2 separate regions of the Homo sapiens genome follow, and region 2 is linked to region 1. The links are contacts of gene promoters, found by promoter capture Hi-C in human tissues and cell types (Jung and others, 2019). All regions are on one chromosome and are shown on one strand. The core of a region is centred on a gene start or on the middle of the fragment in contact, and the rest is flanking DNA. Distances in the headings are between cores, read along the strand shown. Region 1 overlaps PEAK3 (PEAK family member 3). Region 2 holds the start of ZNF554 (zinc finger protein 554).

Region 1 (7,888 bases), core at 2,463-4,962:
CCCTCGGGGATGAGGCCTGAGTGTGGATCCCTGGGTCCCTGGACACTGTCTCCCCCGCAACTGACCCCCAAAGGCCTGTCCTCAGGCTGAACACTCTGTCCCCATCCCAAACGTGCAGAGGGGGGTCCTTCCCACTGCCTGGAAAATTGATGGGTGACAGACCTGCCTCATGATTGAGGAAGTGGGCCCAGAGAGGGCAGGAAACCCACTCGGGATCACACAGCAGGGCCCCAGAGAGGGCAGGAAACCCACTCAGAATCACACAGCAGGGGCCCAGAGAGAGTAGGAAACCCACTCGGGATCACACAGCAGGGCCCCAGAGAGGGCAGGAAACCCACTCGGGATCACACAGCAGGGCCCCAGAGAGGGCAGGAAACCCACTCGGGATCACACATCAGGGGCCCAGAGAGGGCAGCAAACCCACTCAGGATCACACAGCAGGGCCCCAGAGAGGGCAGCAAACCCACTCAGAATCACACAGCAGGGGCCCAGAGAGAGTAGGAAACCCACTCGGGATCACACAGCAGGGCCCCAGAGAGGGCAGGAAACCCACTCAGAATCACACAGCAGGGGCCCAGAGAGAGTAGGAAACCCACTCGGGATCACACAGCAGGGCCCCAGAGAGGGCAGGAAACCCACTCGGGATCACACATCAGGGGCCCAGAGAGGGCAGCAAACCCACTCAGGATCACACAGCAGGGCCCCAGAGAGGGCAGCAAACCCACTCAGAATCACACAGCAGGGGCCCAGAGAGAGTAGGAAACCCACTCGGGATCACACAGCAGGGGCCCAGAGAGGACAGGAAACCCACTCGGGATCACACAGCAGGGGCCCAGAGAGGACAGGAAACCCACTCGGGATCACACAGCAGGGTCAAAACTGGACAAGGGAGTGGAGTGTGGGTGCGCCTGTTCTCACCAAGGGCCCTGGAGCAGGAGGCCTCGACGGTCTCCCAGGCCCCAGCACTCACGGACCCCTCCCCATGTCGCCCTGTGCGTGCACACGGTCACCCCACACACGCCCCGTTTGACCTTTCCCCAGCAACATGAGCAGCCCGGAGCCCCCCACAGAGCCCCCCGAGCCCGACAACCCCACCTGGTCGACTCAGCCCACGTATAGCAACCTTGGTAAGCAGCTCCCCAGGGAGCCCTGGGCTGCGGGGGTGCAGGGAGCGGCAGGGGGGTGCAGGGAGCGGCAGGTGGGTGCAGGGAGCGGCAGGAGGTTGCCGGGCACCATGGCCTCTGGGAACAGCAGCAGCTGGTAAAATGAGTGACCTCCGGGAAGGCCCGGAGTAGGCCAGGGCTGAAAAATAACCTGTGGGTTGGTGGGCGGGGCGTGGTGGCTCACGCCTGTAATCCCAGCACCTTGGGAGGCTGAGGCAGGTGGATCCCTTGAGGCCAGGAGTTCAAGACCGGCCTGGGCAATATAATGAGACCCGCCCCCCATCTCTACAAAACAAAAAAAATGAGATGGACATGGTGTCAAGAGCCTGCAGTCCCAGCTGCTCGGGAAGCTGAGGTGGGAGGATCCCTTGAGCCCAGGAGGTCAAGGCTGCAGTGAGCCATGAAATAGAAAAAAATATATACCATTAAAAAGAGAGAGAGGCTGGGCACGGTAACTCATGCCTGTAATCCCACCCTTTAATCCCAGCACTTTGGGAGGCCAAGGAGGAGGATCACTTGAGGCCAGGAGTTCAAGACCAGCCTGGCCAACATGGCAAAACCTGTCTCTGCTAAAAATACAAAAATTAGCCAGACATGGTGGTGCATGCCTGTAATTCCAGCTACTCGGGAGGCTGAGGCAGGAGAATCGCTTGAACCTGTGAGGCAGAGGGTGCAGTGAGCCAAGACTGAGCCACCGCACTCCAGCCTGGGCGACAGAGGGAGACTCCATCTCAAAAAAAAAAAAAAAAAAAAAAAAAAAGGCCAGGTGCAATGGTTCAAGCCTGTAATCCCAGCACTTTGGGAGGCCGAGTCAGGCAGATCACCTGAGGTCAGGAGTTTGAAACCAGCCTGGCTAACATGGTGAAACCCCATCTCTACTAAAAATACAAAAATTAGCTGGGCATAGTGGCGGGCGGGCACCTGTAGTCCCAGCTACTTGGGAGGCTGAGGTAGGAGAATCGCTTGAACCTAGGAGGCGGAGGTTGCAGTGAGCCGAGATCGTGCCACTGCACTCCAGGCTGGGCGACAGAGCAAGACTTCAAAAAAGAAAAAAAGCAAGACAGACGCTTGTGCAAAGCCACGGAGGTAAGTGGGAGTCGCTGAGTGCTGGGTGGCATCACTCTCTGAAACTGATCCATCCTCCTATAAGCCTCAGTTTCCCCTTCTGTAAGCTCTGCCGCCCAGGCTGGAGTGCAGTGGCACAATCTCGGTTCACTGCAAGCTCCACTTCTCAAGTTCACACAATTTTCCTGCCTCAGCCTCCCGAGTAGCTGGGACCACAGGCGCCCACCACCAAGCCCGGCTAATTTTTTGTATTTTTAGTAAAGACGGGGTTTCACCGTGTTAGCCAGGATGGTCTCGATCTCCTGACCTCGTGATCCACCCATCTCGGCCTCCCAAAGTGCTGGAATTACAGGCATGAGCCATTGTGCATGGCCGCGTCCGGCAAATTTTTAAAAAATTTTTGCAGAGACAGGGTCTCACTATGTTGCCCAGGCTGGTCTCAAACCCTAGGTTCCAGTGATCCTCCTGCCTCGGCTTCCACCTTCCTAAGTGCTGGGATTACAAGCATGAGCCACCGGCGCCCAGCCTCATTACTTCCATGTTAGAGATGGGGAAACCGAGGCTGAGAGGTGGAGTCACGTGTCCCGTTCCCACTCCGCCTGTCCTCAACCCTCCCCCACTGTCTCTCCCTGCAGGTCAGATCCGTGCCCACCTGCTGCCCTCCAAGGCCTGCCGCCTCCGGACCCCTGGGTCCCTCTCCACCAACCCAGAGCCCCTGCCCCCACCCCTGCCCAAGAAGATCCTAACCCGGACCCAGTCACTGCCCACCCGCAGGACCCTCCATCCCAGCTCCATCCAAGTACAGCCGCCTCGGAGACCCTTTCTGGGGTCCCACAGTGTGGACAAGAGCCAGGCTGCAGTGGGACCAGCCTGTCTCCCTGCAGAGCTGACCTTTGGCCCGGCTGACGCCCCACTGGGCCTCTCCCTCCGCGATCTGCACAGCCCGGAGGCTGTGCACACTGCACTGGCTGCGCGGCAGCTGCAGGGCCTCCGTACCATCTATGCCCGGCTCCGTGCCCGGCTCATGGGGGGCCACCCCGGGCCCTGCCACCCCGGCCACAGCTTCCGCCTCCTAGACAGCTCACCCTGCGCAGAGAGCGGGGACGCCCTGTATTACCGCGTGGTGCGCGCGCACGAGGACGCCTGGCACATCCTGGTCGCCAAGGTGAGCCCCACAGCCCCACCCTCTCTGAGGTGTCCCCAGTGCCCCATCTTAGACATAACCCAGGGCTTGTTTCATTTGGCCTTTCTGTGAGTCAGTTCTCACACTGCTGTAAAGAAATACTGGAGCCGGGCGCGGTGGCTCACGCCTGTCATCCCAGCACTTTGGGAGGCCAAGGCGGGCGGATCAGCTGAGGTCAGGAGTTCAAGACCAGCCTGGCCAACATGGTGAAACCCAGCCTCTACTAAAAATACAAAAATTAGGTGTGGTGGCGGGCGCCTGTAAACCCAGCTACTTGGGAGACTGAGGCAGGAGAATTGCTTGAACCCGGGAGGCAGAGGTTGCAGTAAGCCAAGATTGGGCCATTGCACTCCAGCCTGGGCAACAGAGTGAGACTCCGTCTCAAAAAAAAAAAAAAGAAAAAGGCCGGGCACAGTGGCTCACACCTGTAATCCCAGCACTTTGGGAGGCCGAGGCGGGCAGATCACGAGGTCAGGAGATACAGACCATCCTGGCTAACACGGTGAAACCCTGTTTCTACTAAAAAGACAAAAAATTAGCCGGGCGTGGTGGTGGGCACCTGTAGTCCCAGCTATTTGGGAGGCTGAAGCAGGAGAATGGCATGAACCCAGGGGGCAGAGCTTGCGGTGAGCCGAGAACGCACCACTGCGCTCCAGCCTGGGCGACAGAGCGAGACTCCGTCTAAAAAAAAAAAAAAAGGCTGGGCAGCACAGTGGCTGACGCCTGTAATCTCAGCACTTTGGAAGGCCAAGGCGGGCAGATCATGAGGTCAGGAGTTCGAGACCAGCCTGGCCAACATAGTGAAACCCCCATCTCTACTAAAAATACAAAAATTAGCCGGGCGCGGTGGTGCGCACCTGAAGTCCCAGCTACTTGGAGGCTAAGGCAGGAGAATCACTTGAACCTGGGAGGCGGAGGTTGCAGTGAGCTGAGATTCGAAAATTGGGCTATTGCACTCCAGCCTGGGCGACAGAGTGAGACTCTGTCTCAAAAAAGAAAAACAAAAGAGAAGAAAAAAGAAAAGAAAAGAAAAAGGAATACTGGAGACTGGGTAATTTATAGAGAAAAGGGCCTTAATTGGCTCATGGTTCTGGTGGCTTCTGCTTCTGGGGAGGCCTCAGGAAGCTTCCAATCATAGTGGAAGGCGAGGCGGGAGCAGGCATCTCACACGGTGGGAGCAGGAGGAAGGGAGGGAGGAGGTGCTACTCACCTTTACACAGCCAGATCTCACGAGAACTCACTCGTTATCCCAACGACAGTGCCAAGGGAGATGGTGCTGAGCCATTCATGATAAACCACCCCCAAGATCCAAGTCGCCTCCCACCAGACCCCACCTCCAACACTGGGGAATGAGATTTGGTGGGGACACAGATCCAGACCATATTAGACTTGTTTATTTTGCAACTAACACGTGAATCAACGCAGTTAACCCAGGAAACCATGTTTCTAAAGTATGGGGCCATGGGTATGGCCTTGGAGCTCTTGTCAAAACCCCTCCCACACCTCTCTGGCCGGGGATCTGCTTTTGTGTTTTTTGTTTTGTTTTTTGTTTTTGAGACAGAGTCTCACTCTGTTGCCCAGGCTGGAGTGCAGTGGCGCGTTCTCGGCTCACTGCAACCTCCACCTCCCGGGCTCAAGCGATTCTCTCACCTCAGCCTCCGAAGTAGCTGGGATGACAGGCGCGCCACCACGCCCAGCTAGTTTTGCATTTTTTAGTAGAGACGAGCGTTCCCTGCGTTGGCCAGGCTGGTCTCGAACTCCTGACCTCAGCGATCCCCCTGCCTCCCAAAGTGCTGGGAAGGCGTGAGCCACCGCGCCCGGCCCAGGAATCTGCTTTCGAACTCATTGCCCAGGAACATCTTCTTCCCTGGCTTAACTTTCCTGAAAGTCCTTACTGGTGACTAACTTCCAAATTAACACTGACCTCCTGCTGCTGGAGGGATGCAGGCAGCCCCTAGCCGTAGTGGGGGCAGTTTGGGGGTGTGCGTGGGAGGCTTCGGGGCAGGTAGCACTGGGGCAGGCGGTGCTTGTGGGGGGCCCAGTGATCCAGGCCCCGACACCCCCTCTGCCTTGCAGGTGCCCAAGCCCGGGGCGGACGTGCCCCACCCGTGGGGCCTGGAGCTGCAGGCCTCCCTGTCTCCACACTTCAATCTGCAGGGGCTGTGTGGCCTGGTGCCTGAAGGCACACTGCCCGGGGCGCCCTGGAGAGGCGCAGTGGCGCTGGCAGCCGAGGTTCCAGAGCGCACGGTGGCGCAGTGGCTGGCGGAGGCCTGCACGCAGCCGCCGGAGGAGTTCGTGTGGGCTGTGGCCCTGCTGCTGCTGCAGCTGAGCGCGGCCCTGAAGTTCCTGGAGGCGTGGGGCGCGGCCCTAGTCGAGTTGCGGCCGGAGAACTTGCTGCTGGTGGCACCTCGGGGCTGTGCGACGACGGGGCCCCCACGCCTGCTCCTCACTGACTTTGGCCGCGTCTGTCTGCAGCCCCCTGGACCCCCGGGATCCCCGGGCCCCCACGCGCCGCAGCTGGGCAGCCTCCTCCGAGCGCTGCTCAGCCTTGCTGCGCCCTCGACCACGCCTTTGGCCGCGGGCCTGGAGCTCCTGGCAGCACAGCTGACCCGCTTGCGGCCCTCGGCGTCCCGGACGCGGGGCGCGCTGCAGGCGCTGCTCTGGGGGCCCGGGCCTGAGCTGCGCGGCCGCGGAGCACCGCTTGGTCCCTGGCTCCGAGCGCTCGGGCCCTGGCTGCGGGTGCGCCGCGGGCTGCTGGTCCTGCGCCTAGCAGAGCGGGCCGCAGGTGGGGAAGCTCCCAGCCTCGAGGACTGGCTGTGTTGCGAATACCTGGCCGAGGCCACCGAGTCCTCGATGGGCCAGGCCCTGGCGCTGCTGTGGGACTGACCCCAACCCAGGGCGAACACACCTGGTCCAGGCCTGCCCAGGAGGCAGGGCTGGGGCTGAGGTCAGCGTCTCCATGATAGCCAAGACACCCTCTTCCTGCAGAGTCCAGGAGCGCAGCAGAGAGAGCAATGCCCCACTCCAGAGCCTCCCCTCCCGTGCTGGGGATGTGGGTCAAGGGCTTCCCAGGAATGCAGCTGCCCCTCCAGGGCTGGGGGCTGGCCAGCGCCTCCTGTGTTGGGCAGCAGCTCTCTGAAGCCAGGGCCCCCACGCCACTTCCAGGTGTGGACAACCCCGCTGATCAATGTCTCTCTGTGTTCTGCCTTCCCCAGCAGCCAGGGCGCTCTTCCGCGTGGGTTCTGTCATTGTCTCCATGAGAGGCCAATGCCGGGACCAGAGGCATTCCTGGCTCTGGAGCACCCCCTTGTGCTGAAGATGGCCAGTGATTTTGGGCATGTGAATGCCCCTGTCCCTGGTGGAGAATTGCTTGGTGGTGTCACGGGAAGGGAAGGCTCCCTGGGACCTTAGACACCCAGCTCATCTCAGCGGGGTCTGGACTCACCTTCCCTAAAACAGTCCCCGCGGTTCCCTGCCACCTCCCCTCAATCCCTCTGCGCCCACCCTGCCTCCCTCCCTGTTCCTCCGTGACACACCAACTTCTTTCGCGCCCCCAAGCATTTGTGTAGGCTGTTCCCTCTGCCATACTGTTCCAGTTCCACTTTCTTTTTCTTTTTTTTTTTTTTTTTTTTTTGAGACGATCTCGGCTTACTGCAAGCTCCGCCTCCCGGGTTCACGCCATTCTCCTGCCTCAGCCTCCCGAGTAGCTGGGACTACAGGCGCCCGCCACCACGCCCGGCTAATTTTTTGTATTTTTAGTAGAGACGGGGTTTCTCCGTGTTAGCCAGGATGGTCTCCATCTCCTGACCTCGTGATCCGTCCGCCTCGGCCTCCCAAAGTGCTGGGATTACAGGCGTGAGCCACCGCGCCCGGCTACAGTTTCACTTTCTCTAAACAAATAAAGGTGCCCACTCTGGGCCATCGCTAGCTCCTTACCCTGCGTTCTCCGCCCACTCTCAGGAGCATTTATTCCTCTGTTACTGTCCACAAGGCTGTGAGTTCCCTGGGGGCAAAGGCCAGGCTTGGCACACAGTAGGTGCTCACTTAATACCACAGGATGATGTAATAAACAGGCACAGAGGAGACTCACTGGAGGGGGATGGAGTCTTCCTTTATGCCTCTGACACACTGCACTGCCCTTGCCTGTGGCTTCCTTCCTGGAGACTCAGAGTTGCCCCTCCATTCCATTCCCCATGGCAGTCCTGGGAGGATCTTTCCAACCCCAGATATGAGGTCCCTCTCCAGCTCAAACACCTCCCATGGCTCCCCAGTGCCTCAGAATACATACAGGGCTCTTCCAAAGTCTCCTCAGAGTCTCCAACCCCATGTCGTTCATCCCTGGAGGTTACTTTCCAGCCTCCACGCCTTTGCCCAAGTTGTTTTTTACACCAGAAAACAGCCCCCTCTACTCTGCTTCATACTCCTATTCATCCTGCATGGCCTCAGCTCTAATGCCCCTTCTCTGCATTTGCGCTGC
Region 2 (7,888 bases), core at 2,386-4,885, 540 kb before region 1:
AGGGAGGAGCTGCTCAATCCTCTGAGCTGCTCTAACAGTAAATACAACTCTTCTTCACCCTTCACTTGTCTGTATACCTCATTCTTCTTGGATGCAGGACAAGAACTTGGGCAAAGGTACCACAGCCACAGAGGTTTCCAGCCAGAAAAACTGACACCCCAGGGATCCCGTAATACTGTCTCCTAGGGAGAGGCTGTGCTCAGTCCCAATACTGAGGGTCACTCTTTACACCTGGGAGCAGCAGGAGTACCTCATCCCACACACCACTCCTGGGGAATTCTCCTGAACTTTCACATAGCAAGGGGTCTCCTCTATCGAGGACTGAGTTTCTGGTGGGATTGTTCCCTCTGGATATACTGGGTGCCCTTTGGGAGAATGAGGACATCTCACCTGGGACCAGCGGGGCAGGTACCCAGCAGCCATTCTCTCCTCTTGGGAAAAGCAGGTTCCTGGGCAGGCAGAGCTGTGGGGAGGAAAAAGGCGCTGCGAATACCAGATCCAGGCCAGTCCCCAGATCCCAGAGCCCTTGGCCTGGAGAACCTCCATTTGCTTGAAGGGGCCCCCCATACACAGAGGGAGGTAAACTGAAGCCAGAACCCAGGACTGAAGCCAGGGTTTGTGTTTTTTAAGAGATAGGGTCTCCCTCCGTTGCCCAGGCTGCAGTGCAGTGGTGCAATCATAGCTCATCTCATGGCAGCTTCAACCTCCTGGGCTCAAGCTATCCTCCTACCTCAGCCTGTGGCTGGAACTACAGGCACCACCATGTCCGGCTAATTTTTTGTATTTTCTGTAGAGACGGGGCCTTGCTATGTTGTCCCAGGTCTATAGCTCCTGGGCTCAAGGGATCCACCTTCCTCAGCCTCCCTAAATTCTGGGATTAAAGGTGTGAGACGCCACACACATCCATGGCCAGGGGTCTTAAAGGCCCCATTTTATGGATGAAGGTCCTGAGGCCCTTGGAAGCAAACAAGTTTACAAAACACCCAGGCTCCATTAGGAAGTGAAGCGCTCCATGCATTTCCTGAGGCTGTTTTCACAAGGTGCCAGTAACCCGGGGGCTTAAAATAACAGGAATATATCCTTTCCCAGTTCTGGAAGTCTGAGATCAAGGTGTGGGCAGGGCTGTACTCCCTCTGAAGGCTCTAGGGAAAAGCTCGGGTATGGTGGCTCATACTTGTAATCCCAGCACTTTGGGAGGCTGAGGCGCGAGGATCACTTGAGCCCAGGGGTTCAAGACCAGCCTGGCCAACATGGTGAAACCTCGTCTACTAAAAATACAAAAAAAATAGCCAGGTGTGGTGGCACATCCCTGTAAACCCAGCTACTCAGGAGGCTGAGGCACGATAATTATTTGAACCTGGGAGACAGGGGTTACAGTGAGCCAAGACTGTGCCACTGCACTCCAGCCTGGGCAATGGAGCAAGACTCTATCTCAAAAAGAAAAGATAAGGAAAAGAAGAAACAAAAGCTCTCAGGAAAAATCCTTCCGCCTCTTCCAGCTACTGGGGTCATGAGTATTGTCCTTATAAGAGAAAGAGACAGCTGGACTAGGTGACTCACGTCTGTAATCCCAGCATTTTGAAAGGCCAAGGCGGGCAGACCACGAGGTCAGGAGTTCGAGACCAGCCTGGCCAACATGGCAAAACCCCCGTCTCTACTAAAAATACAAAAATTAGCTGGGTGTGGTGGCGTGCACCTGTAATCCCAGCTACTCGAGAGGCTGAGGCAGAATTGCTTGATCCTGTGGGGTAGAGATTGCAGTGAGCCGAGATCGTGCCACTGCACTCCAGCCAGGTGACAGACCGAGACCCCATCTCAAAAAATAAAAATAAAAACAAAAAAGGAGAAAGAGACACAGGGAAGAAGGCCACATGATGATGCAGGCAGAGCTTGGAGTGATGTGGCCCCAAGCCAAGGGACACCAACTATGGCAGGCCACCCCCAGAAGCTGGAAGAGACAGAGAAGATCCTCCCGCCAGAGCCTTCAGAAGCACCACGGCCCCACCACATCTTCATGTTGGGCTTCTGGCCTCCAGACTTGTGAGAGAATAAATTTCAAGCCTCCCCCTGCCCCCTGGTTTGTGGTGCATTGTCACAGCAGCTCCAGGAGGCTCATGTAAGAACCAAAGGCGCCGGGCGCAGTGGTCACTTTGGGAGGCCGAGGTAGGTGGATCACCTGAGGTCAGGAGTTCGATACCAGCCTGGCTGGCCAACATGGAGAAACTCTGTATCTACTAAAAATATAAAAATTAGCCAGGCGGGGTGGCGTGCACCTGTAATCCCAGCTACTTGGGAGGCTGAGGCAGGAGAATCACTTGAACCCACGAGGTGGATGCAGTGAGCCGAGATCGTGCAACTGCACTCCAGCCTGGGCAATAGGGCGAGACTGTCTCAAGAAAAAAAAAAGAAGAAGAAAAAGAAACCAACCTGTTTGGGTAGGGGAGAGTTCAGGGAGGTTGGGGTTGCTAGAGCAGCAGAAAGGTCAGCTGCCTCCCTCATTCCTCAACATGGGTGGTGGGTATAAACAGAATAGACCCTTGCAGCTGCGCGGTGGCTCACGCCTGTAATCCCAGCACTTTGGGAGGCTGAGGCGGGTGGATCACCTGAGGTGGGAGTTCGAGACCAGCCTGGCCAACATGGTGAAACCCCGTCTCTACTAAAAATGCAAAAATTAGCCGGGCGTGGTGGCATACGCCTGTAATCCCAGCTACTTGGGAGGCTGAGGCAGGACAATGGCTTGAACCCGGGAGGCGGAGGTTGCAGTGAGCCGAGATCATGCCATTGCACTCCAGACTCCGTCTCAAAAAAAAAAAAAAAAGGACCCTTGCTGTCTTATCACCAGGACAGCGGTGCTAACGTATAAGTGAGGTCTCTCCCTCAGGGCGCTGTGGACACTGGAGCCTGGGTCATTCTCTGGGCTGGGCAGGGTGCTGAGTTGCATCCCTGGCCTCCACCTACTCCATGCCAGGAACTGCCCCCAGTTATGACAACCACAGACGTCCCCAGACATCGCCCGGTGTCCCCTGGAGGGCAGGACCGCCCCTCGCTCAGACCCTCTGATGTGGCCTCACTGCAGTGCGAGCGTGGCAGCCCCTCTCTGCCTTTAGGGTAGAGTCAATGCGTCTTCTCCCTCTCCTTGCAGGCTGGGCCTCGGAAAGCTTATGCGTCTCTCACCCAGGGGCGTTTTCACAGGGCAAGGGCAGACCGTGCCATCCTGGGCGTTGGGGCCCTGGGCGAGCTGCCGGCTCCCGACCCTCCCGTGGGGACCCTATCGCGACAGGGTCATGCCCCGGCCACCCGGCCCCGCCAGACCCAGCCCCACCAGAGCCCCGGCAGGCCCGGCACGGAGGTCGCGGCGCGGGAGGCGGCGGCACTTACGGCTGAGCTGCCGGGAGCCGCGCGCGCCGGCCCAGGTGGGCGCAGGTGACCATCGGGGCGCGCGCTGAGGCGCCAGACAGGGCCCCCGAGGCGGGAGCGCCCCGTGCAGGCCGGCCGGCCTCCCCTGCGTGTCCCTGGGACGCCTCCTCCGCTCGGCTCCTCGGCGCTCGGAGCGGACGCCCCCCGCAGGCGCCCCTCAGGAACTCGCCGCAGCCGCCGCCACCAACCCCGACGCGCGCAGAGGTAAACTCGGCACTGCGCCTGCGCACCCCGAACCTGCGAACTACAAGTCCCAGCAGGCCCCGCAGCGCGGCGCTGGGCTCCTGACTCTCCAACCTGGGTCACAGCGCCGCCTCCGGGCGGGCGGCGTCTCCGCAGGACCACGATGCCCCTGCGGCTGTTGGATCCACCCCGTGTGGTTCGCTGGAGTCCCCGGGTGTTGTGGGGTTCGCGGAGCCAATCCTCAAATCCCAGCTCCGTCGTTTCCCGGCGGCTTGCCATTGGATATTAATAACTACTATTATTTATTAAGCAAGTTATATAAACGTATAATGTATTACATACTTATTAAAATGATTGCTTAAGTAATTGTTGTTTGTTTTTGAGACTGAGTTTCGCTCTTGTCGCCCAGGCTGGAGTGCAATGGCATGATCTCAGGTCACTGAAACCTCCGCCCCCTCGGGTTCAAGCGATTATCCTGCCTCAGTCTCCCAAGTAGCTGGGATTACGGGCGTGCACAACCACACTCGGCTAATTTTTTATATTTTTGGTAGCGACGCGGTTTCACCATGTTGGCCAGGCTGGTCTCGAACTCCTGACTTCCAGTGATCTGCCCGCCTTGGCCTCCCAAAGTGCTGGGATTACAGGCGTGAGCCACCACGCCCAGCCAAATTAAATTATTGTTTAAATATTTATTTAATATTCTACTGATTGTTATTTATGAGAAATTAAAATAGTAAAACTACTATAATTAATATACTGTTGTAGGATACAACAAATTCCTCTTCAAAGGTTTTAGCCTGTAAATTGTTAAGTACAATCAGTTATGAGCTCCTCTCCAAAGAACCAATGTTTCCGTATATTCAGCTCCCCTGTTCTTTTTTTTTTTTTTTTTGAGATGGAGTCTCGCTCTGTCGCCCAGGCTGGAGTGCAGCGGCGCGATCTCGGCTCACTGCAAGCTCCGCCTCCCAGGTTCACGCCATTCTCCTGCCTCAGCCTCCCAAGCAGCTGGGACCACAGGCGCCCGCCACCACGCCCGGCTAATTTTTTTGTATTTTTAGTAGAGACGGAGTTTCACCGTGTTAGCCAGGATGGTCTCGATCTCCTGACCTCGTGATCCGCCTGCCTCAGCCTCCCAAAGTGCTGGGATTACAGGCGTGAGCCACCGCGCCCGGCCACCTATTCTTTGTTCTTCATTTTAAACTTTAACTTCCTCGTTCTTTTCGTTTCCTTGCCCCTAGTTTCAGTAAACAACCCCTCCTAGCCCCTATCACCTGCTCTGACCTTAGTCACCCTTGGTCACCTGCTCTGACCTTAGTCATCCTTGGTCACCTGCTCTGACCTTAGTCATCCTTGTCACCTGCTCTGACCTTAGTCATCCTTGGTCACCTGCTCTGACCTTAGTCATCCTTGGTCACCTGCTCTGACCTTAGTCATCCTTGTCACCTGCTCTGACCTTAGTTATCCTTGGTCACCTGCTCTGTTCTTAGTCACCCTTGTCACCTGCTCTGACCTTAGTTATCCTTGGTCACCTGCTCTGTTCTTAGTCACCCTTGTCACCTGCTCTGACCTTAGTTATCCTTGGTCACCTGCTCTGACCTTAGTCATCCTTGGTCACCTGCTCTGTTCTTAGTCACCCTTGTCACCTGCTCTGACCTTAGTTATCCTTGGTCACCTGCTCTGTTCTTAGTCACCCTTGTCACCTGCTCTGACCTTAGTCATCCTTGGTCACCTGCTCTGACCTTAGTTATCCTTGGTCACCTGCTCTGACCTTAGTCACCCTTGTCACCTGCTCTGACCTTAGTTATCCTTGGTCACCTGCTCTGTTCTTAGTCACCCTTGTCACCTGCTCTGACCTTAGTCATCCTTGGTCACCTGCTCTGACCTTAGTCACCCTTGTCACCTGCTCTGACCTTAGTCATCCTTGGTCACCTGCTCTGACCTTAGTTATCCTTGGTCACCTGCTCTGACCTTAGTTATCCTTGGTCACCTGCTCTGTTCTTAGTCACCCTTGTCACCTGCTCTGACCTTAGTCATCCTTGGTCACCTGCTCTGACCTTAGTTATCCTTGGTCACCTGCTCTGACCTTAGTTATCCTTGGTCACCTGCTCTGTTCTTAGTCACCCTTGTCACCTGCTCTGACCTTAGTTATCCTTGGTCACCTGCTCTGTTCTTAGTCACCCTTGTCACCTGCTCTGACCTTAGTTATCCTTGGTCACCTGCTCTGTTCTTAGTCATTCTGAGTCACCTTTTCTGTAGCCGTCCTTCCTGCCAAACTACTCACCCCGCCACTCTGGCTCATACCCCTGCTCTTTAAAACAGCCAATCAGAATCAGCTTAGACTGTGCGGGCCAACCCTAGCCAATAGGGGAACAACACAGCAGTAGGGGTACCTGCGTCAGGGGTAAGAACCCCTTCTCCTCCCTCGTTCAGGTGTGCTCGTTCAGGCGCCGCCAACCCCGACTCGCGCAGAGGCAAACTCGGCATTGCGCCTGCGCACCCTGAGCCTGTGAACTACAAGTCCCAGCAGGCCCCGCAGCGCGGCGCTGGGCTCCACCTGCCAGACGCACCCTTCTATAGAAGTAAAATTGCCGTGCTGAGAAAATTAATGTTCGAGTGCTGTTTCTTTTGTGGCACCGAAAATTTATTTCTAACACTATAAAGGTTCATAATATAGTCTCACTAATTGCATTAGTCAGTTCTCACACCGACTAAGGCAAGGGCCACCACGTCTGACTAAATGTTTGTATTTTTTAGTAGAGACGGGGTTTCCTCATATTGGCCAGGCTGGTCTTGAACTTCTGGCCTCAAGTGATCTGCCTGCCTCAGCCTCCCAAAGTGCTGGAATTACAGGTGTGAGCCACTGTGCCCAGCCAATAAAAACATAAATAATAACTGGGAATTTATAGGCTCACATAACCGCCAAGTTCAGGGGCAGGTCCGGACCCCACCGTAAACTGGGTTGGAGGTGCTTGGACGATGTAGTGGGGTAGCCTTCATCACAGCCGTAGCGTCCTCCGGGTTGGCAGGCCCCACTCCAAGCACCTCCACGTGCCGACAGCATTCCCTCCTCCCAATTTCAAGTTCAGGGAAAAATAAAATTCTCTAATCGTTCAAACCGAGTCAGACTGGAGGACGGCACTGATGTAGGTGCTCCAAAATAGGTCACCAGCCCATCCGCAAACCAACGATGAGAGGTGGCCGGGGGCACAGGATGGCCTTTGGGACAGAGCTCCGTCTCCCTGACCTCCTGAGCTGAGGATGGGGCAAGAGGGAACACACAAGGGCAGTCTGGGGTCTGAAGAGGAGAGCATCACACCGGTCTGGTGCAGCCTGGAAAAGCCAGAAAGCTCTCTGCATGGCCACAGGGAGCCCAGTTCCCCAGGGAGCCACGTGGGCAGCACCCTGGCCCCTAGCCCATGCTGGAACTCATCCCTGGGCCCTGTCTACCTGGAGACTTGAACCCAGACCTCCTGCCTTCCAGCCCAGGGCTCAAACCACCCGCAAGCTGGCCATTAATCTCAGAATCGAACTGAGTTTCACAAAACATTTTGTCCCTTGAAGTAGGGACAGCCCTGGAGAGTGAGGCCCCTGTCCCTTTCAAGGCTGTGGCCTTCAGCCGGTGTTGCTCATTGGGGAGAGGAGGGGGGACGCTGGCTCTGCTCCTGAGATGCCCCATCTGGGACACGGGGACAGTAACACAAGTCCCATGGGGAGGATGGGGACGACCGCGCCTGCCCAGCCCGCAGCATGGAGCCTGCCTACAACGGCCCCACTGGTATCATCCTTGAGAGGAGTGGGGCCGCTCGGGGCCACCAACCACAGAGATCCCAGCAGCTTCTCGGTTGGAGAAATACTTCGTGAAGGACCAAAATGGAACCACAGGCACAAAGCCTGGGGCGCGTGTGTTGGAGGCAGCACAGGCAGGGACAGGATTGTGGGGATGAAGAGCCAGGGACACCTGGGGACAGCCCACGGGGGCTGGACGGGTGACTGGGGAGGAGACCACTTCTGCATTCAGGTTTTGTCAAAAACCTAAAGAAGGAGAGTTTACAGAGAAATGTTGCGAAGATCACAAAACATACAGGTTCCAATATATGTATTTTTTACGATTCTTTATTTCCCCCTTTTTTTTCCACTGGGGAGCAGCAAGGGGCCAAGGAGAGTGACAACCTGGACGGGCAGGGGATGCTAATGCCACACTGTCCTCTGAGCCCACTGCTGGAGCCCTGAGTGGGGAGCATGGGGCAGAGGAGCCAGGAGACACAGCAGCTCTGCAGCCCCCTCCCTG

Evidence for each region. Contacts are between HindIII fragments. The study calls those that stand out against the background at their distance.
Region 2: the fragment with the promoter of ZNF554 here is called in contact with a fragment that was not itself captured in region 1 in 2 of the 25 tissues and cell types used here (aorta and dorsolateral prefrontal cortex).

What each region holds. Positions count from the first base shown.
Region 1 is chr19:2,274,089-2,281,976 of GRCh38, reverse strand. It overlaps PEAK3 (PEAK family member 3), which reads left to right. Exons shown (of 4, transcript NM_198532.3): 2 at 1,042-1,127; 3 at 2,864-3,393; 4 at 5,488-7,346. The coding sequence starts at 1,046. The coding sequence ends at 6,297. Among named protein-coding and RNA genes, the nearest start is that of PEAK3, 4.1 kb to the left of the region's middle. RefSeq lists enhancers at 1-86, 5,992-6,926, 7,731-7,870. The HindIII fragment of the contact is 7,382 bases long and covers 22-7,403 here.
Region 2 is chr19:2,815,615-2,823,502 of GRCh38, reverse strand. ZNF554 (zinc finger protein 554) reads right to left here and starts at 3,635. Exons shown (of 5, transcript NM_001102651.2): 1 at 3,379-3,635; 2 at 391-463. The coding sequence starts at 3,431. It overlaps THOP1 (thimet oligopeptidase 1), which reads right to left. Exons shown (of 13, transcript NM_003249.5): 13 at 7,696-7,888. RefSeq lists an enhancer at 2,531-3,224 and a silencer at 3,157-3,596. The HindIII fragment of the contact is 22,652 bases long and covers 22-7,888 here.